3 separate regions of the Homo sapiens genome follow, and regions 1 and 3 are each linked to region 2. The links are contacts of gene promoters, found by promoter capture Hi-C in human tissues and cell types (Jung and others, 2019). All regions are on one chromosome and are shown on one strand. The core of a region is centred on a gene start or on the middle of the fragment in contact, and the rest is flanking DNA. Distances in the headings are between cores, read along the strand shown. Region 1 overlaps DCAF1 (DDB1 and CUL4 associated factor 1). Region 2 holds the start of GRM2 (glutamate metabotropic receptor 2). Region 3 overlaps DCAF1 (DDB1 and CUL4 associated factor 1).

Region 1 (3,663 bases), core at 907-3,406, 260 kb before region 2:
ATCCTCCTGCCTCAGCCTTCTGAGCAACTGAGACTATAAGCATGCATCCCTATACCCAGCTCATTCACTAAGTTTTTAAATTCCGTAACTATAATTTTTGTTTTTTCATAAAGTCTTGGACTTTTCTTAGAGTTCTGATTCCTTATTTTACATCCAATAGTTTAACCATTTTAAAGAGTATAATTCAGTAGGACTAAGTACATTCAAAATGTTAAATAACTATTACCGGTATAGTATCTATTTTCAGAACTTCTTCATTATGCAAACAAAAACTCTGTACCCCTCACTTTCAATTACGATTAAGACAACCAGACAGAAGATCAATAAGGAAACAGAGAACTTGAACAACACTATAAGCCATTGAACCTAAAAGATGTACACAGAAAACTCCACCCAACAACAGTAGATTACACAGTCTTCTCAAGTACACATAGAACTTTTTCCATGTTCTTTTATGTTTTTTTTTTCCCAGAGTAAACCATATGTTAGGCCACAAGTCTTAATAAATTTAAAAAGATTGAAATCTCACAATCTTTTCTAGTCAAAATGGAATGAAACTAGAAATCAACAATATCGCAAAACTACAATAGTCACAAATACATGAAAATTAAACATCACTCTTAAATAACTAATGAGTCAAAGAAATCACGAGGGAAATTAGAAAGTCACTTTGGACAAATGAAAACACAACCATACCAAAACCTATGGAATGCAGCAAAGGCAGTGGTTAAAATGAAATTTATTTATTTATTTCTCTTTTTTTTGAGATGCAGTTTTGGTCTTGTTGCCCAGGCTGGAGTGCAATGGCACAATCTTGGCTCACTGCCACCTCTGCCTCCTGAGTTCCAGTGATTCTCCTGCCTCAACCTCCCAAGTAGCTGGGACTACAGGCACACGCCATCACGCCTGGCTAATTTTGTATTTTTAGTAGAGATGGGGTTTCACCATGTTGCCCAGGCTGCTCTCAAACTCCTGACCTCAGGTGATCCACTCATCTCGGCCTCCCAAAGCACTGGGATTACAGGCGTGAGCCACTGTGCCCGGCCAGAATGATATTTATAGCTGCAAACACATGCAATTAAAAAAGAAGAAAGATCTCAAATCAAATTAGGAACTAGGCCTAACTATGCCTTATGCCATATGCCACTAGAAAAAAACAATACTCAAAGCTAGCAAAAGAAATAATAAAGATTATAGTGGGGAAAAATGAAATAGAGAATAGAAAAATACAGAAAGTCAATGAAACTAAAAGTTCTTCACCAAGATCAACAAAATTGACAAACTTTTGGCAAGACAGGTCAAGAATAAAAGAGAGGACTCACATTACTAGCAACAGAAATGAAACAGGCCTCATTACTACCAACTTTATAGAAATAAAAAGATTTATAAGAGAATACCATATACAATTGTACAACAACAAATTGGATAACCAAGATAAAATGGACAAATCTACCAAAACTGACTCATAAAGAAACAGAAAAACTAAATAGACCTATAAGTAGTAAGGAAATTGAATCAATAATCAAAAACTTCCCAAAACAGAAAAACCCAGGACATGATGACTTCACTAGTAAATTCTACGAAACATTTAAAGAAGAATTAAAGCCGGGTATGGCGGCTTATGCCTGTAAGCCCAACAATTTGAGAGGCTGAGGCAGGAGGATCACTTAAGGCTAGGAGTTCGAGACAAACTTAAGCAACAAAACCAGACCCATCTCTTTAAATAATTAAATAAAATAAAGAAGAATTAACACCAATCCTTCTCATAACTCTTCCCAAAAATTGACTGGGAGGTAACACTTCCTAACTCATTTTATGATGCCAGCATTACCAAAGCTAAAGACACTGTGAGAAAACAAAACTATAGACCAATATATCACTCATGACTATAGTTATAAAAATCCTCAACAAAATACTAGGAAAATGAATTCAGCAGCATAAGAGGATTATACATCATGACTAAATAAACTAAATCTCAGGAATTCAAAGACAGTTCAACATACCACATAACCACTGCAACTGATACCAAAAAAATGTTGACAAGTCAATACCCTGTAATGAAAAAACAATAAACTAGATTCTAGAAGGAAACATCAGCATAATAAAGGCCATTTATGAAAACTCATAGCTAATATCATACTCAACAGTGAAAGACTGAAAGGCTTTCCCTTAAGATCAAGAAAAAGATATCCACTTATTTTTTGAGAGACAAGGTCTCACTATGTTTTCCAGGATGGTCTTGAACTCCTCAGCACAAGCGATCTTCCCACCTCGGCCTCCCAAAGTACTGAGGTTACAGGCGTGAGCCACCACGCCTGGTCAAGGTGTCCACTTTTGCCACTTCTATTAAACATAGTACTGGAAGTTCTAGTGAGAGTAATTAGACATAAAAAAGGAAATTAAAGGAATCCAGATTAGAGAGTAAGAAGTAAGATTACCTCTGTTGGCAAATGACGTGATCTTATATGTGTAAAACCCTAAAGACTCCATACACAAAAAAACCTGTCAGTGAAGTAACACATTCAGCAAAGTTATAGGATACAAAATCAACATACAAAAATCAGTTGCACTTCTATACACTAGCAATGAACAATATAAAAAGGAAATTCTTTTTTTTTTTTTTTTTTTTTTTTTTTTTTTTTTTTAGTGACAAGGTCTCACTCTGTCACCCAGGCCGGAATGCAGTGACATAATCATAACTCACTGCAACCTCGAACTCCTGCGCTGAAGCAATCCTCCTGCCTCAACCTCCCAACTAGCCAGGACTACAGCCATGTGACACCACACTCAGCATATATATATATATTTACAGATGGGGTCTCACCATGTTGCCCAGCCTGCAGCCAAATAATTTTAAATAAAAATAAATTTTAGGCCAGACACAGTGGCTCATGCCTGTAATGCCAGCACCTTGGGAAACCAAGCCAGGGAGGATCATTTGAGCTCAGGAGTTCAAGACCAGCCTGGGCAACATAATGAGACTCTGTGTCTATTTTTTCGTATATATTTAAAAAATAAAAATAAATAGATTTTAGGTCAGGTGTAATCCCAGCACTATGGGAGGCCAAGACGGGTGGATCACCTGAGGTTAACAGTTTGAGACCAGCCTGGCTAACATGGTGAAACCCCATCTCTACCAAAAATACAAAAAATTAGCTGGGCATGGTGGCAGGTGCATGTAATCTCAGCTACACGGGAGGCCGAGGCAGGAGACTCCCTTGAACCTGGGAGGCAGAGGTTGCAGTGAGCTGAGATCATGCCGTTGCACTCCAGCCTGGGCAACAAGAGCAAAACTCTGTCTCAAAAAAAAAAAAAAAGATTGTAAAGCTTTTTTTCAATATCTCTGAAAGTAAAAGTCAACAACTTTTTAAAAACAGTGGCGGAATAAAACCAACTTAGTACACTGAACCAGCATTTTAAAAAAGAAATAAGTAAAAAAGTATCAGAATGAATTGCACAAAGAGTAAACAGTGTTTTTAAAACTTCTTTTTCATACATATAATGTATGGACTGGGTTTCAAGGTTTAAAAAAAAGTACATGTTACTATGTTTCACAAAATTTGAAAAACACCATCCTAGAGCAATAAGTCTTTTTCTTTTCTTTTTTGAGACAGGGTCTCGCTCTGTCTCCCAGGCTGGAAAGCAGTGGCACAATCACAGTTC
Region 2 (3,935 bases), core at 1,166-3,665:
CTGTGACTAGTGTGCCTGCACGCTGGTACTTCCCCAGTAGGCGAGGCTCCCCCACTGTGCCTGCCAGTGGCTGTGTACCTGTGTGTGTGCATGTGCACCCACGCTCATGCATTTGGCTCTGTGTAACCACGGATGGATGGGGCTGCTTGGGTAAAGCTGTGCCCAGGTGAGCATCAGGGTATGATTGTACCTGAGCATGGCTGAGTCTGTGTGGATGGCTGTGTGCCTGTGTGAGTGTGTGTGTGTGTGTGTGTGTGTGTGTGTATTGCTGTGCTTTGTGTCTGTGTATGGTTGTATTATAGGAGCATGTGAGGCTGGCTAACAGCATCTCTATGGGGGCTTTGTTCATGTACAACTGTGTGTGGCTGTGTCTGTACAACTGTGTGTATGGTGATGTTCATGACGTTCATGTATAAAGCTATGTGTTTTGCTATGTGTCCACATATAAAAACACACATTTGCTATGTGTCCTGCAGCCGTATATCCATAATTATGGCCATGTATGTGTGGACATGTCTTGGTGGACAGCTATTTGTGGCATGTCCTTGTGTGAGCAGCTGTATATATGTGGCTGTGTCCACATGTGCAGCCGTGTGTAGACATGGTCACATGTTCTTAGGGGCAGGGGTGTGCCCATGTGTATTATGGCTGTCTACAAGTATAGCTGTGTGTGGTTGCATGTTTATGTGTACTATGCATGTGGCCATGTCCACATTTACAACTGTGTAAGGCTAAGTGTATGTCCTCATCCGTGTGCACACAGCTGGGAGTGGTGGCTGCCTAGCTGTGTGTAACTGTGTGTCCATGTGCTGCGACTGTGCAGCTTGTTTGCTGCAGGCCACATCATGGGCTTTTCTGGCTGATGCTGTACACAGCCATATCTGTGTTTACAGCCCTGTGCCTTTTGTGAGGCTGACTTGTTGAGCAGGTTGGGAGTGTGGCTAGAAGGAGTGTGTGACTCCTCACCTCAGCACCCTCCTGCTGTCAACCCCTCTGCTCCAGAGGCCTGGCCCATTGCTCACCTACCCCAGGGAGCTGTTGCTCTGAGGCAGCCAGAGAGGGTGAGAGCAGCCGGTGGCAGAGTTGGAGGTGGAAGACAGCATGTCTGTCTCCCACTGCCACCTTGTCTCCTGTTAGTGATGGGGCTTGTGTTTGTTTGGGTTTTATGTGTCTGTTTCGTTTCAAAGCTGTATTCTTTCCACAGCAGCAGGACATCAGGTTTCTGTGTCCAGGGAAAAAGCTCGTCCTTGGTGATCACCCCCGCACCCCTACGGACTGCCACACGCACATGTGGGTGTGTGTGCCTGAGGGGTCTGGGCTTGGCATGTTCATTAGCATGTATCTGAGCTGGCCTTGCTTCCACTGACACCTGTGGAAGAAAGGGCAGTGTCGGGAATGTGTGTAGGGATGCCATGCCCCTTGGCACTTGTTAGTGTGTGCACATGTTAGGGGCAGATAGCACAGGCTCTCTAATCCCCATTCCTTCAGCACAGTCTGGCACTACAGCTTATCCACTACCCTCTACCCAGGGGCGTCCTTCCCCATCCTGCTGTGGGAGGGAAGAGTCAAGAGAATCTTCTCAGAGCTGTCCTCCCTCTGCTTGGGCTCCAGCTCTCACTCCCTCCTACGCAGCAGCCAGTTCCAGAAGCCTTTCCCTAGGCCCCTCCCCTCCCAGATGCCCCTGCCATCCCTAACACTCCCTCAGGGTTGACCCTAGTACTTGGTTCTGCAGCCCTTCCTGCAGGTTGCTCTCTCCTTGCTTAAATACCCTTTTTACATGGGAGTGGGTGGCAGGTTTAAAGGGCATCTGCAGGAAGGAAGGGGAGGCCCCATTCTCCTCTGACCTCTCCCTTCCCCCAATCTTTTCCTCATAGTGACTCTGGCTCCAGGTCTCAAAAGTGGCAGAGGACACATGCCTCCAACTCAGGCCTGGGATGTGGACCCAGCTGAAATCGCTGAGTGGGGAGAATAGACTCCACCCGTCTCCCACGCGCCCCTTTACCTATCCCCCAGAGGCACCCCTTGCACTAAGGCCAGCTCCTCCACTCTGCAGTAGCACTATGGGCACCTGTCGGGGCGCAGTGACCTTCCCCACCCCGTGCCCCGTGGCATCCCCCCGCCCCCCACCTATGCTCTCTAGGTGGTAGTCTGACTATGGGGCGGAGTGGGCCACGAAGCACCCGCTCCAGCGCAGAGCGAGAGCGCTCGGGGATTCAGCACCACGAGGCGGACAGCTCCAGGCCCTGAGGTCCCCAGAAAAGCTGGAGCGCGGAGTGTCCAGAGGAGGCGGAGGCTGGGTTGGGAGCAGGAGACCTGGCGTCTGGAGGAACGGAGGAGGGGCTGGGGGCGGGCCGGGGCCGGGGGCGGGGCGGGGCGGGCCGCGATTGAAAGCGGCGGGGCGAGCGGGCGGGCGGAGAGCGCAGAGCCAGCGAGCCAGCGAGCGAGCGAGCGGGAGCCGGAGCCTCGCGCCCCCCGCTCCACTCCGATTCTCTCCGCGCCAGAGCCAGCGCGCCAGGTAGGGTGAGCCGGTGGTGGTGGTGCCGCTGCCGCTGCCGACCTTTTTGGCCCTTACCTCACGTCCCAGGGTCCTGCGGGCCCTCAAGTTGTGGGGCGCCCGCGCTGCTGTGTCCAGACAGCGTTCCCTGAGAGCTCCGGGAAGCGGGAAGACAGCCCCGGGCGTCCCGCCTTTCTTCTCCAGAAAACGCACGCCCCACATCGCACTCCCCCGTTCCTCCTGCTCCAGCGTCCTCTGGTCCTTCTTTCTGTCTGTGCCTCCGTCTTTGTCTCAACCTCTCAGGCTTGCTCGCTCCCTGCCCAGATTTTGTGGCCCAGGCTCCTGGCTGTCTGACTCCGGGTTTCTGTCCCCTTCCTGCCTCTGAGCTTCCGTCTGGGCCTCCCCTCTGGGAGACTTGCGACTTGACCAGTTTTGGCTTCAGCCCCCATCTGGGTCCCTGTCTCCATCTGTGCTGGTCTTCCTCCCTGCTTCTCCCTCGCTTGCCTGGGTAAGCTGCTGCTTTCCTGATCCCCAGAGGAGCCCAGTGCCCCTGCCCTGGGGAGCTGAGGGGGCAAAATGAAGAGGCTCAGCCTCCGTGGCCAGCACATGGGGTCCTTGAGTTAGTTGCTGCCCTTCTTCAAACTCAGTTTCCTTTCCTGTTCTGAGGAAAGAGGTATGTCCCTCTCCCAGCCTTTCCAAGCCTGTGTGATTGTGAGAGCCTTTGTGGGGTGTGTGTTTGGGAAGGCAACTGGGGTACAAATGATTGGACGCAGTGGGGAAGAGACAGGGAGGGGGTCTCTGAGGGCCATGGCTAGGGTGGGCAGGGCCCTGAAGCTGAGGATGGGGAGATTGGAAATGGTGACTTTCTCTGCTGGGTCGGGAGTGAAGAGAAAACAGAGGCACAAAATCTCAAGCAGTGTTCTACACAGAGCTAGAGAGTCCCGCACTCTCACCCTCAGCACTGTTTGGAGACTCTAGCCCCCAACCCTGACACACACATACGTGAACATCTGCTTGCCCTGTTGACTTAGGACCTTGAGCCACTTGGGTACCCTCCCTGAGGCCAGCCATTCCACCTTGCTGTCTCATTCCCAGGGCTTAGTGTCTCTATTCCTTCCTCAGTCAGCAAACTGTGGGGATGGCTTTTTAAGAACCAAAGGTTAGAACCCTTGGGTGTTCACATGGGCTCCAGTCTCCCCACGGGTTGGAGACTGTCCCTTAGAGATGCTTCCCTTCCTCTTCCCTGGTGGGTCCTGAGACAGCAGTTCCTTCTCTCTGGAAATCCAAGGCTCAGGATGGGGACCTCTGAGTTTGTGACTGTGACATAGTCTGTTCCAAAGGTATTGACCTCGGGGTCCTGGGAGGTTTGTGCTGTTCTTGGACACCCTTTGAATTACAGAGGGGTCAGCATTGGCTGGGGTCTCCTGTCCTCTGCCTGGGA
Region 3 (4,029 bases), core at 1,449-3,948, 300 kb before region 2:
GGAGGCTGAGGCGGGCAGATCACGAGGTAAGGAGATCAAGACCATCCCGGCTAACACAGTGAAACCCCGTCTCTATTAAAAATACAAAAAATTTGCTGGGTGTGGTGATGGGCACCTGTAGTCCCAGCTACTCTGGAGGCTGAGGCAGGAGAATGGCATGAACCCAGGAGGCGGAGCTTGCAGTGAGCCGAGATCGCGCCACTGCACTCCAACCTGGACAACAGAGCAAGACTCTGTCTCAAAAAAAAAAAAAAAAAAAAAAACCAAATTTTTCTAGAATCCTGACTCAACTCTGACAACATTTAGAAAATGTTTTGGATCCAGGGATATTGTTTTTTTTTTTAATTCTCTAAGACTTCTTTTAGGGCTTAGAGGAATTCAGGGCCAGGCCATTTTAAATTAAGGTACTAATAAATTTCTCTACAGAAAGAATTCTAAAACTCTTCTCTCCTTAATTCCACCTACATCAATTTCATGGTTACCCAAAGCCCCCAAACCCTGCAGATAAACAACTCACCCCTTTCCTTTACAGAAAATAGGTCAACTGGCATAAGCTCCCTCCGCTGCTCTCTGGTCCCCTCTACATCTAAACCTGGCTTCAGCCCTGGTCTGAGGAGGAAGCATGCTACCCACTCCTGCTCTGGATCTCAACCAACCCTGAGACCCTGTTACCACAGACACTTTTCTCATCCCCACCTCACCACCACCTTCACACTGGCTTCTCACTTTCTATGCCAAGAGGTTCAGTTCTCCCAAACCTAATAAGCTCTCCATCTACATAGGCTTCAGATGCCTTTTACCTACACTTTGGCTGGGCGCAGTGGCTCACACCTGTAATCCCAGCACTTTGGGAGGCCAAGGCGGGTGGATCACCTGAGGTCAGGAGTTCGAGACCAGCCTGGGCAACAGGGTGAAACCTCGTCTCTACTAAAATACAAAATTAGTCGGGTGTGGTGGCACATGCCTTTAGTCCCAGCTACTTGGGAGGCTGAGACAGAAGAATTGCTTGAACCTAGGAGGCGGAAGCCTGGGCGAGACAGAGTGAGACTCCATCTCAAAAAAAAAAAAAAAAAAAAACAACAACAAAACCGTCATTCAAATCTGATCCTGACCTTTATGTAACATGTCATATTTTGCTAAATGTATAAATGCCTACTTTTTAAAAAATACTTTTTCTGTCCTTAAAGGCTATAGGTTCACTTTAGGGTCATAAATGTTTGTTTTTCTTTCCTCAATGGCAGAATCTAACTCAAGTTACATTTCAATTCTTTAAGAAAATGAGGCCTTTCAGGAATCAACACATTCAGCTCTGACCAGGTGTGTGTAATCAGTAAAGACTCTTAACATCCGCTTCTAGGCAGTGGAGAACACACAGGAAGCACAGCACACAGTGTGTCCCAGACTCCAAAATGGAGTGGAAAACAGAGAGCATTATTCCTTTGTTGAGTTTTTTATTATAAATTTAAGGTTAAGTATAATTAGCTAAAATGTATTGGCTTGTCAAAATCTAGGAGCAATGATCAATTACTTATCTTGGGTTTTGTAACTTTTCTAAAAGTCAAATCAAAGATGAATGAACTGATTTCTAAAAACACAGGCACCAGGTTGGGCGCGGTGGCTCATGCCTATAATCCCAGCACTTTGGGAGGCCGAGGTGGGCGGATCACCTGAGGTCAGGAGTTCGAGATCAGCCTGGCTAACATGGTGAAACCCCATCTCTACTAAAAATACAGAATTGGCCGGTTGTGGTGGCAGGCGCCTACAATCCCAGCTACTCAGGGAGGCTGAGGCAGATTTGCCTGAACCTGGGAGGTGGAGGTTGCAGTGAGCCAAGATCGCAACACTGCGCTCCAGCCTGGGTGACAGGGCGAGACTCCATCTCAAAAAAAAAAAAAAAAAAAAAAAAACAACCAGATACCAAACTTCTAATGGATAATAATGAGCTGTGATAGGTGACTAGCTTATCTCTGCTTTCATCAAATGCCTGAAGGCAGGCAGACTAGCAGCCTCAGGAACCAAATATTTATGGGTGTCCAATACATTGTTTAGGTTTTCATTCATCTAGATACAGCTAGCTGTACCTTTCATCCTTTCCTCTTAATCTCCAAGCTTATTTAAGCATAAGGACAAAGGACAAATATTTTATGGCATGTCAATTATATCTCGATAAAGCTCTTTATGCTGGACCATTTTATTAGATGACGGCTGACCATTCAGGCTTCTGAATTTATTTTGCTATAATGAAAAGGCAAATTCAAAGGTGTTGGTCACAGGTGCCTGTATCCCTGAGCCACATAAGTCATATCTGGAACATCTGAGAAGACCTGAGAACAGATATCTAGACTAGGACAAAACTTTGAATAGCAAATGATTCATAGGAAAATGAAAAGTCTCTAGTTTTAAAATCAGGTGAAGCGTACAAAGCAAAGTAAAACTAGAGACTGGTTTTCCTACAAAGGAAAGTGAGTTTAAAAAAAATTCAAGCTGGCACACTGTGCATGAGAGGCAGTAGGCAGAAATCTGATGGAGATAGTAAAAACAGCCAAACTCCACCACAAGATTCTAGAAGGAGCATGGATCAACAGAATTAAGGTTACAAAAGAGACCTACTCAAATAGATACGGTATTATCCCGTATCTCTAAATCAAACATCTCTAAATCAAAAATCAAAATGCCAAGGGCTTGAGGGGATAAGCAGTTCTCTAACAGAGGTCCTTCAAACATGAAATGCACCAGATGATCAATAAAAGCTGTAATATCAGTATGGAGTGAAACATGCCTAGATCCTAAGAAATCTGGAAGCCACAGTAATAACTTAGCCATGTTGCACACCTACCCTGCCACCTAGTCTTCTCTGAGCTAGAAAGCTTTCCGGCTCTTCTACAGGCTGGGCTCCAGAGCCACTCCTTAGAGCCCTCTTGACCCTGCCCCTCTCACTCTTGGCTGTCACGCTGAGGCAGCCTCTTGCTTTCCTTCCTGCATCCAAGTCAAAAGTCCTGACCACTACCATATGCCCTTCCTAATCTCTTTCTCCCTTAACTTCTCAGAAGTTAAGCAGGACAAAAGAAGAAGAATTAGTCAGTCTTTTCCCTGACCCAAGCCTTCCTGGAGAGAGTGGGATAAGAGGAGTATAACTCTTAAATTATTCCCTTATGGTGGCCTCTCGCTTCCACAGCCAGCCACCAACCTCCAGTGCCTTTGCCTCTCACCACTCCATGTCTGCAAGAATAAGGCGAACCCAGAGAATAGCCTTCCAACTCCCAAGGTGTCTAGGGCAATCTCAACTTTCCTCTGAGTTGACCTCCCCCTCAAAGACAGACACCAGGCATCACATGGACCCAGGTGATGGTTCCCAGAGAAGACTGCCGCCCACTGCCTTATTAAATGCACGGATATGGGAGGGCTGGGATAATGATGTTGACAAACAATCCAGTTTTGGCCTCAGATTTATGCTTCAACATGTAACATCCAAGAAGCCTGATTCAGAACTGATACTTGGTAGTGATGAATAAACCCACGGAGGACAAAGCAGTCGACAGCCACCCATACCATTGTAATGTACGCGCAAATGGCCTGACAACTGCACCCTCTGTATGGACTCAAGAATAAACTACATCTTGTTTCATGATAGCTAATGTGAAAAAGTAGGCATTAAGGGAGTGAGGTGTCTAAGGTAGCAAACTGAAGTGAGAATAAAAGAACAGGCAGTATTAAGAAACCCACTCAAGGCAACCACATGAAATTTGGAGGACCTAATACCAAGCTCTGCTACCCAGAAAGACTAGAAACATGTACAAGCTGTAACAGCACAGCACTCAAGAAAACACTAAAATCCATGTCACAAATAAATCAAAGATTTCAAGTATCCACTGGAAAACCTCTCCCTTCTACCCATATCTCATAACTCACATGAGCTTTAGACACTGCTGGCTCCTCTCACCCATGAAACCAAGGCCCCTATAGAGCCCATATAGCTGGAAAGCAGTAAAGGAAAGCCTTTCTACACTAGCAGATCCTTGGCAGCATTTG

The links. The method cuts DNA at HindIII sites, captures the fragments that hold promoters and counts their contacts. A contact is called where the count stands out against the background at its distance.
Region 1: a fragment that was not itself captured here is called in contact with the fragment with the promoter of GRM2 in region 2 in 1 of the 25 tissues and cell types used here (dorsolateral prefrontal cortex).
Region 3: a contact is called between a fragment that was not itself captured here and the fragment with the promoter of GRM2 in region 2, in 1 of the 25 tissues and cell types used here (thymus).

What each region holds. Positions count from the first base shown.
Region 1 is chr3:51,448,461-51,452,123 of GRCh38, forward strand. All of the region lies in intron 6 of DCAF1 (DDB1 and CUL4 associated factor 1), which reads right to left. Among named protein-coding and RNA genes, the nearest start is that of DCAF1, 50 kb to the right of the region's middle. The HindIII fragment of the contact is 3,124 bases long and covers 595-3,663 here.
Region 2 is chr3:51,704,653-51,708,587 of GRCh38, forward strand. It overlaps GRM2 (glutamate metabotropic receptor 2), which reads left to right and starts at 2,416. Exons shown (of 6, transcript NM_000839.5): 1 at 2,416-2,515. RefSeq lists an enhancer at 1-156. The HindIII fragment of the contact is 8,284 bases long and covers 1-3,935 here.
Region 3 is chr3:51,406,103-51,410,131 of GRCh38, forward strand. All of the region lies in intron 23 of DCAF1 (DDB1 and CUL4 associated factor 1), which reads right to left. Among named protein-coding and RNA genes, the nearest start is that of RBM15B, 17 kb to the left of the region's middle. The HindIII fragment of the contact is 3,503 bases long and covers 948-4,029 here.